Regions from separate parts of the Homo sapiens genome. Here region 2 is linked to region 1. Evidence: promoter capture Hi-C in human tissues and cell types (Jung and others, 2019). All regions are on one chromosome and are shown on one strand. Each heading gives the region's core, a stretch centred on a gene start or on the middle of the fragment in contact. The rest is flanking DNA. Distances are from core to core; before and after follow the strand shown.

Region 1 (4,381 bases), core at 1,285-3,784:
AGTGAATTTACTTTTATGCATTTAGAAGCATTTTTCTAGGAACGTGTCCACAGGCTTCACAGACTCCCAAAGGGGGCACAAAAATAAAGGATCCCCTGGCTTGGTGCAAGCTTGACCCCAACTTTGTTCCTGGCCTTCCCCAGCCCTGGCTTCTGGTCACCGTGTTGGGAGAGCTGAGCCTCCCTGTTTCAAGAGAAGGCCCAGGTGGTGAGGCCTCAGGTTTACAGAGCAGAGTGGATGATGGGGAAGCCCTCGCACGTTCTGTCTCTGCCTTTTGGTGTCACTCACCCACGCCCGTTATCTTCCATTCTCTGATCTTCTCTTTCCTCTTTCCTTTCTCCTTCATTACCCCTTCCACCCCCACACTCTCAGAGCCTTCCTTTCAGCCTATTTTTGAACATCCCTGAGGATAATGTCTTTTCTGTGGCTCCTGGGAGGCGCCACTACCAGCTGTGGCTCGTTAGCTGTGCTGGAAAAACTCTCGCGTTGTGCCTCAAGGGCAAGAGGAGTCTCTGGTTCCACTTGGCACTCAGAGGGGGACCAGGGATGTCTCAATGGTGGGAACAATGGGGAGTGTGACCTTGGAGCTGGAAGCAGGGCTCTGACCCCCTGCAGGAGGGATGAGAGTGCCCTCACCTCTAGTGAGAACTGAGGCCCTGCGCCGGCCCCAGCCAAACAGTGAGGGCGTGCAGACCTTGCCCAGGAAGGCCAATTTCTCAGTGCAAAGGGAGCCATGGCCAGGGAACCCGGCCCGGGTCCTCCACCTCTGAAGCTGAGCTAGGCATCTGCAGGCCAGGGTGAGGGGCTGCCCTGTGTGACCCGCCGGACCCAGGCATAGAGCAGCACCTGAGTCAGGCTGTCCCAGAGCACTGGCAGCTTCACTGCAGGGGCAGGCTGGCTCTGCTGACGCCAGACGCTCAGTCTGGGCAGAGACTTCTCAGTGGGGGCAGAGAGTAGGTGCTTCTCTGGCTAATCTGCCTCCCAGCTCTGTGTTTGATAAGGCCCAAGTCCAACTTTACAGATTGCAAATTGACCTTATTTCTCTTTGGCATCACAGAAAAACAACCTATAATCCACCAAGCCAGATATGAGCGGGCCTGACCTGTGGATCCTCTGCCCACCTGACAGACATCTGCTCATTTGTCGGGAACCCCTCAAGAGACAACTCCTCCCTGCAGCCGGCCCCTCACTTCCCCCCACCCATGGAGCACTGATCCCAGCCACCAGGGCCTGACACAAGGGCCCATCACCATGGCATCTAGCAAACACGTTTCTCACGCTTTGGGTTGTATTTATCTCTTCCCCACCTAGCTATGAATTCTGCAAGGGCGAGAGGAATGTGGGTTGAATCTGCTGCACATGGTAGCACTTGATAAGCGGTTCCTGAATGAATGAGTGAATGGCAGCCAGTCCTTCCCATTCTGAGGCAGAGGTGCAGCCAGGAGAGGGCGTGTACACAGGTCTGACTGACCACAGTGGGAGGGGACTGACCCTCATCCCTTGGTCGCAGCTGGACTTTCCTTCTAGGCCCGATCTCCCTGGCGCCCCACCCTGCACCCATCTGCCTGGGCCCACTCTCCTGGGCATGTTATCAGGGATGCACAGACTGCTCCATGTTCGAGGGGACTGAGGCACATCCATCACCCTCGTGCCCTGGGTGCTGCTGCATCCCCAGAGCCTGACTCTGTGCCTTGGACTTAGTAGATGCTCGAATCACAGTTCGCAAACCCATGCAAGAGTCTCTGATTTGGGTTTCGCTTTCCTTCCCCCTGCCTGTGTCCACTCTATAAAGGCAGAAAGGAACCTGCTGGAGCTGGGTCCTCCCCGAGAGGCTTGCAGTTCCAGAACAGGCAAAAACAATGGCTTCCCACAGGTTTACAAAACAAGGAGCAGGCTATAGCCCCGAGGAAGCTGCAGGACCCTCATCGGTTCCAACTCCTGTGGAACTGATGAGGACTAAAGGGGCCTTCCTGTGGCCATCTGGGTCCCGGAGGTGGGCGGCTTTCTAGGCTCCCCAGCCTGCCACACCCCTTGAGGCCACCCCACCCAGCTTCAAGCCTCAGCCCTAACTTCCAAAGGTGCAGCTGTGCCAGGGTGCGGGTGGGGAAGACACTGTCTCCTGGGGAGACCTCCATCTTACCTCTGAGGTCAGCCTCTGCTCAGGTGCAGCGTCACAGCAGGGGGCCTGCGTTCTGCTTCCCAGTCTGGGAGAAGAGAGTGTCTGGATATTTTCAGGAAAAAAAAAGAAAGTTGAGCAGCCACAGCAGGGCAGGGCAGTCTACATCCTCAAGTCTCCCTCAGCTTCTCTGCTGCTGCCGGCTGGCCTCAAATTTTGCCTCTCTTTGGTTCTCTGAGAAGTTTTACCAAGAGAAGAGACAGGAGGAGAGATCCAGCCTGGACTATTGTTTGTGGGGTGTGTAGGTGTGTGTGTGTGTGTGTGTGTGTGTGTGTGTGTGTGTGTGTGTATGCGTGTATGTATCCCGCGAGGCTGGAGCCACAGCTTCCCTGATGAACCATGGAGGCGGGCCAGCTCCTGAGCTGCGGTTGCCCTGGAGACCCACCTAAGCCTCTTTGCCTGGAGCAGCATTATCTGTAGAGGGAGTGGCTGATCTGACACAAAAGCCTGAGGCGACCCAGGCCCAGGCAGTGAGGGAGCACTTGTGTCCAGATGGCATTCTGTCCGCTTCCTCCTCCAGCCGGTGCTCAGTGTGGCACAAACTGGGCAAGACCATTCTCACCCAACCCTCTGCTGAGCCCTAGGTGTACCTGCTGTTGGCAAATGTTTCCAGCTGCCTGGTGGGTGGCTCCTGGATGGAGATCCCCTCTTTCTATCAGCTCCCTCCTACAGGGAAGGGGTGATTCTGGGTGCTGAGGACAGGGACCTGTGAAGATACATCTCCGCCTTTGCCCCACCACATCCCTTGCCTGTCTTCCTCTCTGCTTATCTAAATTATTTCCTTCCCTCAAGGCAAGCTCAAGAGCAGACAGTTCTGACTTTCAGAAGGAGGGGCTGTCCAGGGAGAAGAGGAACATGGAACAGAAAGCATTGACGTTGAGGTATTTGAGATAACATTTGGGGATAGCAGAAGCATCCTGTTGCTGTTCTGCAGCATCCCACACTCATGTCTGGGCCTCCTTCCTGTCTCTGCTCTCTGGTCACGCTGTCACTTGTAGACTGTTCTGCCTAGAAGCCATGTGTGGGCCAGCTTGCACCTAACAGACATTAGGTAGCACTAAAACAGATGCACACTGCCCTGTGAGGGGCATGGGAATACTGTAATGGGCATGAAGCTGCATTATAATAGATCTTAGGTAATCCTGTGCTGGGTGATAGCGTGACTTTTGCACACATCTGGTTTTGATTGTGTTGGAAATAAAGCAGAAAGTACAACCAAGAATAAATTAAACAATGGCTGATGAAATGGACTCAGGTTGCCCACCTGCCTGCCTGCATGATTTCGTCCCTGGGTGATTTGTCACTTCGTGCTTGCTCTGTGGCTGGTTCCACTCAGCTGGTTCCATCCGCCTTCCCTCTTCATCCATCAAGCAGGCAAGATTCTTGAGTCAGGAGTTGGATCATATACTTCTCTTGACCAGTTCACAGCACGACAGCCCCAAAGATTGAGTGGGTCACTTGGGGATGGAAGATCCCCACATTTGAGGGAGCTGAAGCTGACTTCCTCTGACCCACAGTTCCCAGGCGGCCTCCACCTCAGGGCCAGCTAAGGCCAGAGTCACCCAAAGCAGGTAACTGGGAGTCCCCACCTCTGAGCACCCCACCACTATCCTGGCACTTTCCCAAGGGGCGTGGCTTGGAGGTCCAAGGGCAGAAATTCCCAGGCATTTCCACACTGTAGGGAAGGGAGCAGGGGGATGACAAGACTTTACCTTCCCTTTAGGAAAGTTGCTGGAGGCAATGAGGAGAGGAGGGCATGGACTAAGTCACATGCTCATCTGTGCAGCACGTATTTCTAAAGCACCATTCTACAGGGGCACCAAGCTAGGAGCTGGCTGAGCCTGGCTCTCCTCTCTGCACACATCCCAGCCAAGCCTGTGTGTGCTGGATTGCTGGATCAGATGAGGAGGAGGTGGAAGTCTGGCAGGCAGGTGGGGAGCAGGGACAGCATTAGGGCCCAGAGTTAAAGACTTTTATCTCCAAGTAGTACAACCTTGGGTCTGCTACTGACCATTCTGTGTTTGAATAAAAACAATTCATCCCTTTTCTATAGCCATGCTTTTGTATTAATATCTCCCCTTCTAATGCACACACAATGAATGTAAATGAGATCATAGAGGCCAATGTCTTGAGCCATCAGAAAGATTTTGTCGCAGCAGCTGCCAGATGAGCTTCAGGACTCCTGACCCTGGGATGCCAGGGAAC
Region 2 (4,613 bases), core at 1,058-3,557, 38 kb before region 1:
ACAGAGTCTCACTCTGTCACCTGTCACCCAGGCTGGAGTGCAATGGCACAATCACAGCTCACTGCAGCTGAGACCTTCCAGGCTCAGGTGATCCTCCCACTTCAGGCCCCTCAAGGAGCTGGGACTACAGGTGTGTGCCATCACACCTGGCTAATTTTTTGTAGAGATAGGGCTTTGCCATGTTTCCAAGGCTGGTCTCAAACTCCTGAGCTCAAGTGACCTGCCCACCTCGGCCTCCCAAAGTGCTAGGATTACATGTGTGAGCCACCCAGCACTTTGGGAAAACTTCAAATAAACAATCTGGCAATGCATCTTAAAGAACCAGAAGGTGGCAGGGGGTGAGGGAGGCTAAGAAAATAAAAAAAGAACTAGAAGAGCAAGAGCAAACCAAACCTAAAATTAGTAGAAGAAAAGAAATAATAAAGATCAGAGCAGAAAGAAATAAAATTGCAATAAACCCAAAAGATCAATGAAACAAAATATTGTTGTTTTGAAAAGTTAAACCAGGCTGGGCACGGTGGCTCATGCCTGTAATCCCAGTACTTTGAGAGACCGAGGCGGGTGGATCACCTGAGGTCAGGAGTTTGAGACCAGCCTGGCCAACATGGTGAAACCCTGTCTCTACTAAAAATACAAAAAAAACTAGCTGGGCATGGTGTCAGGTGCCTGTAATCCCAGCTACTCAGGAGGCTGAGGCAGGAGAATCGTTTGAACCCAGGAAGCGGAAGTTGCAGTGAGCCGAGATCGAGACTTAGTCTCAGGAAAAAAAAAAAAGAAAAGTTAAACCAAATTGACAAACCTTTAACCAGATTACCTAAGAAGAAAGCAGAGAAGATACAAATAAAATCAGAAACAAAAAAGGAGACATTACAACTGATATTGCAAAAATTCAAAAGATCATTAATGACTTACTATGAATAACCAAATGGCAATAAATTGGAAAATCTAGAAGACAGAGACAAATTCCTAGACAAATACAACCTACCAAGATTGAACCAGGAAGAAATCCAAAACCTGAACAGACCAATAATAAGTAAGAAAATCGGGTGGGTTCCAAGATGGCTGAATAGGAACAGCTCCAGTCTACAGCTCCCAGTGTGAGTGACGCAGAAGACGGGTGATTTCTGCATTTCCAACTGAGGTACCAGGTTCATCTCACTGGGGCTTGTCAGACAGTGGGGGCAGGACAGTCGGTGCAGCCCACTGAGCATGAACCAAAGCATGCTCGGTCAGGTCAAAGCACAAGGGGTCAGGGAATTCCCTTTCCTAGCCAAGGGAAGTGGCGATGGATGGCACCTGGAAAATCAGGTCACTCCCACCCTAATATTGTGCTTTTCCAATGGTCTTAGCAAACTGCACACCAGGAGATTATATCCCACACCTGGCTCAGAGGGTCCTATGCCCATGGAGCCTCACTCATTGCTGGCACAGCAGTCTGAGATTGAACTGCAAGGCCACAGTGAGGCTGGGGGAGGGGCGCCCGCCATTGCTGAGGCTTGAGTAGGTAAACAAAGCGGCCAGGAAGCTGGAACTGGGTGAGGCCCACCACAGCTCAAGGAGGCCTGCCTGCCTCTATAGACTGCACCTCTGAGGGCAGGGCATAGCCAAACAAAAGGCAGCAGAAACCTCTGCAGACTTAAATGTCCCTGTCTGACAGCTTTGAAGTGAGTAGTGGCTCTCCCAGCACGGAGTTTGAGATCTGAGAAAAGACAGACTGCCCCCTCAAGTGGGTCCCTGACCCCAGAGTAGCCCAACTGGGAGGCACCCTCCAGTAGGGGCAGAGTGACACCTCACACAGCTGGGTACCCCTCAGAGACAAAGCTTCCAGAGGAATGATCAGGCAGCAACATTTGCTGTTCAGCAACATTCGCTGTTCTGCAGCCTCCGCTGCTGATACCCAGGCAAACAGGGTCTGGAGTGGACCTCCAGCAAACTCCAACAGACCTGCAGCTGAGGGTCCTGACTGTTAGAAGGAAAACTAACAAACAGAAAGGACATCCACACCAAAACCCCATCTGTAAGTCACCAAAAGACCAAAGGTAGATAAAAACCACAAAGACGGGGAAAAAACAGAGCAGAAAAGCTGAAAATTCTAAAAATCAGAGTGCTTCTCTCCCTCCAAAGGAATGCAGCTCCTCGCCAGCAATGGAACAAAGCTGGATGGAGAATGACTTTGACGAGTTGAGAGAAGAAGGCTTCAGAAGATCAAACTTCTCTGAGCTAAAGGAGGAAGTTTGAACCCATCGCAAAGAACATAAAAACCTTGAAAAAAGATTAGACGAATGGCTAACTAGAATAACCAATGTAGAGAAGTCCTTAAATGACCTGATGGAGCTGAAAAATATGGCACGAGAACTACGTGACGAATGCACAAGCTTCAGTAGCCGATTTGATCAACTGGAAGAAAGGGTATCAGTGATTGAAGATCAAATGAGTGAAACGAAGCAAGAAGAGAAGTTTAGAGAAAAAAGGATACAAAGAAACGAACAAAGCCTCCAAGAAATATGGGACTATGTGAAAAGACCAAATCTACATCTGATTGGTGTACCTGAAAGTGATGGGATGAATGGAACCAAGTTGGAAAACACTCTGCAGGATATTATCCAGGAGAACTTCCCCAATCTAGCAAGGCAGGCCAACATTCAAATTCAGGAAATACAGAGAACACCACAAAGATACTCTTCGAGAAAAGCAACTCCAAGACACATAATTGTCAGATTCACCAAAGTTGAAATGAAGGAAAAAATGTTAAGGGCAGCCAGAGGGAAAGGTTGGGTTACCCACAAAGGGAAGCCCATCAGACTAACAGCAGATCTCTTGGCAAAAACTCTACAAGCAAGAAGAGAGTGGGGGCCAATATTCAACATTCTTAAAGGAAAGAATTTTCAACCCAGAATTTCGTATCCAGCCAAACTAAGCTTCATAAGTGAAGGAGAAATAAAATCATTTACAGACAAACAAATGCTGAGAGATTTTGTCACCACCAGGCCTGCCCTACAAGAGCTCCTGAAGGAAGCACTAAACATGGAAAGGAACAACCAGTACCAGCCACTGCAAAAACATGCCAAATTGTAAAGACCATTGATGCTAGGAAGAAACTGCATCAACTAACAAGCAAAATAACCAGCTAACATCATACTGATAGGATCAAATTCACACATAACAATATTAACCTTAAATGTAAATGGGCTAAATGCTCCAATTAAAAGACACAGACTGGCAAATTGGATAGAGTCAAGACCCATCAGTGTGCTGTATTCAGGAGACCCATCTCACGTGCAGAGACACATACAGGCTCAAAATAAAGGGATGGAGGAAGATCTACTAAGGAAATGGAAAACAAAAAAAGGCAGGGGTTGCAATCCTAGTCTCTGATAAAACAGACTTTAAACCAACAAAGATCAAAAGAGACAAAGGAGGCCATTACATAATGGTAAAGGGCTCAATTCAACAAGAAGAGCTAACTATCCTAAATATACATGCACCCAATACAGGAGCCCCCAGATTCATGAAGCAGGTCCTTAGAGACATACAAAGAGACTTAGACTCCCACACAATAATAATGGTAGACTTTAACACCCCACAGTCAACATTAGACAGATCAGTGAGACAGAAAGTTAACAAGGATACCCAGGAATTGAACTCAACTCTGCACCAAGCAGACCTAATAGACATCTACAGAACTCTCCACCCCAAATCAACAGAATATGCATTCTTCTCAGCACCACATCACACTTATTCCAAAACTGACCACATAGTTGGAAGTAAAGTGCTCCTCAGCAAATGTAAAAGAACAGAAATTATAACAAACTGTCTCTCAGACCACAGTGCAATCAAACTAGAACTCAGGATTAAGAAACTCACTCAAAACTGCTCAACTACATGGAAACTGAACAAGCTGCTCCTGAATGACTACTGGGTACATAACGAAATGAAGGCAGAAATAAAGATGTTCTTTGAATCCAATGAGACCAAAGACACAACATATCAGAATCTCTGGGACACATTTAAAGCAGTGTGTAGAGGGAAATTTATAGCACTAAATGCCCACAAGAGAAAGCAGGAAAGATCTAAAATTGATACCCTAACATCACAATTAAAAGGACGAGAGAAGCAAGAGCAAACACATTCAAAAGCTAGCAGAAGGCAAGAAATAACTAAGATCAGAGCAGAACTGAAGGAAATAGAGACACAAAAAACCCTTCAAAAAATCAATGAATCCAGGAGCTGGTTTTTTGAAAAGATCAACAAAACTGATAGACCGCTAGCAAGACTAATAAAGAAGAAAAGAGAGAAGAATCAAATAGATGCAATAAAAAATGATAAATGGGATATCACCACCAATCCCACAGAAATACAAACTACCACCAGAGAATACTATAAACACCTCTATGCAAATAAACTAGAAAATCTAGAAGAAATGGATAAATTCCTGGACACATACACTCACCCAAGACTAAACCAGGAAGAAGTTGAATCCCTCAATACACCAATAACAGGCTCTGAAATTGAGGCACTAATTAATAGCCTACCAACCAAGATGGAGTCACAGTTGAATTCTTACAGAGGTACAAGGAGGAGCTGGTACTATTCCTTCTGAAACTTCTCCAATC

Evidence for each region. The method cuts DNA at HindIII sites, captures the fragments that hold promoters and counts their contacts. A contact is called where the count stands out against the background at its distance.
Region 2: a contact is called between a fragment that was not itself captured here and the fragment with the promoter of RD3 in region 1, in 3 of the 25 tissues and cell types used here (bladder, spleen and thymus).

The regions. Positions count from the first base shown.
Region 1 is chr1:211,489,628-211,494,008 of GRCh38, forward strand. It overlaps RD3 (RD3 regulator of GUCY2D), which reads right to left and starts at 2,535. Exons shown (of 3, transcript NM_001164688.2): 1 at 2,141-2,535. The HindIII fragment of the contact is 12,360 bases long and covers 1-4,381 here.
Region 2 is chr1:211,452,349-211,456,961 of GRCh38, forward strand. No RefSeq gene overlaps it. Among named protein-coding and RNA genes, the nearest start is that of RD3, 38 kb to the right of the region's middle. The HindIII fragment of the contact is 3,093 bases long and covers 762-3,854 here.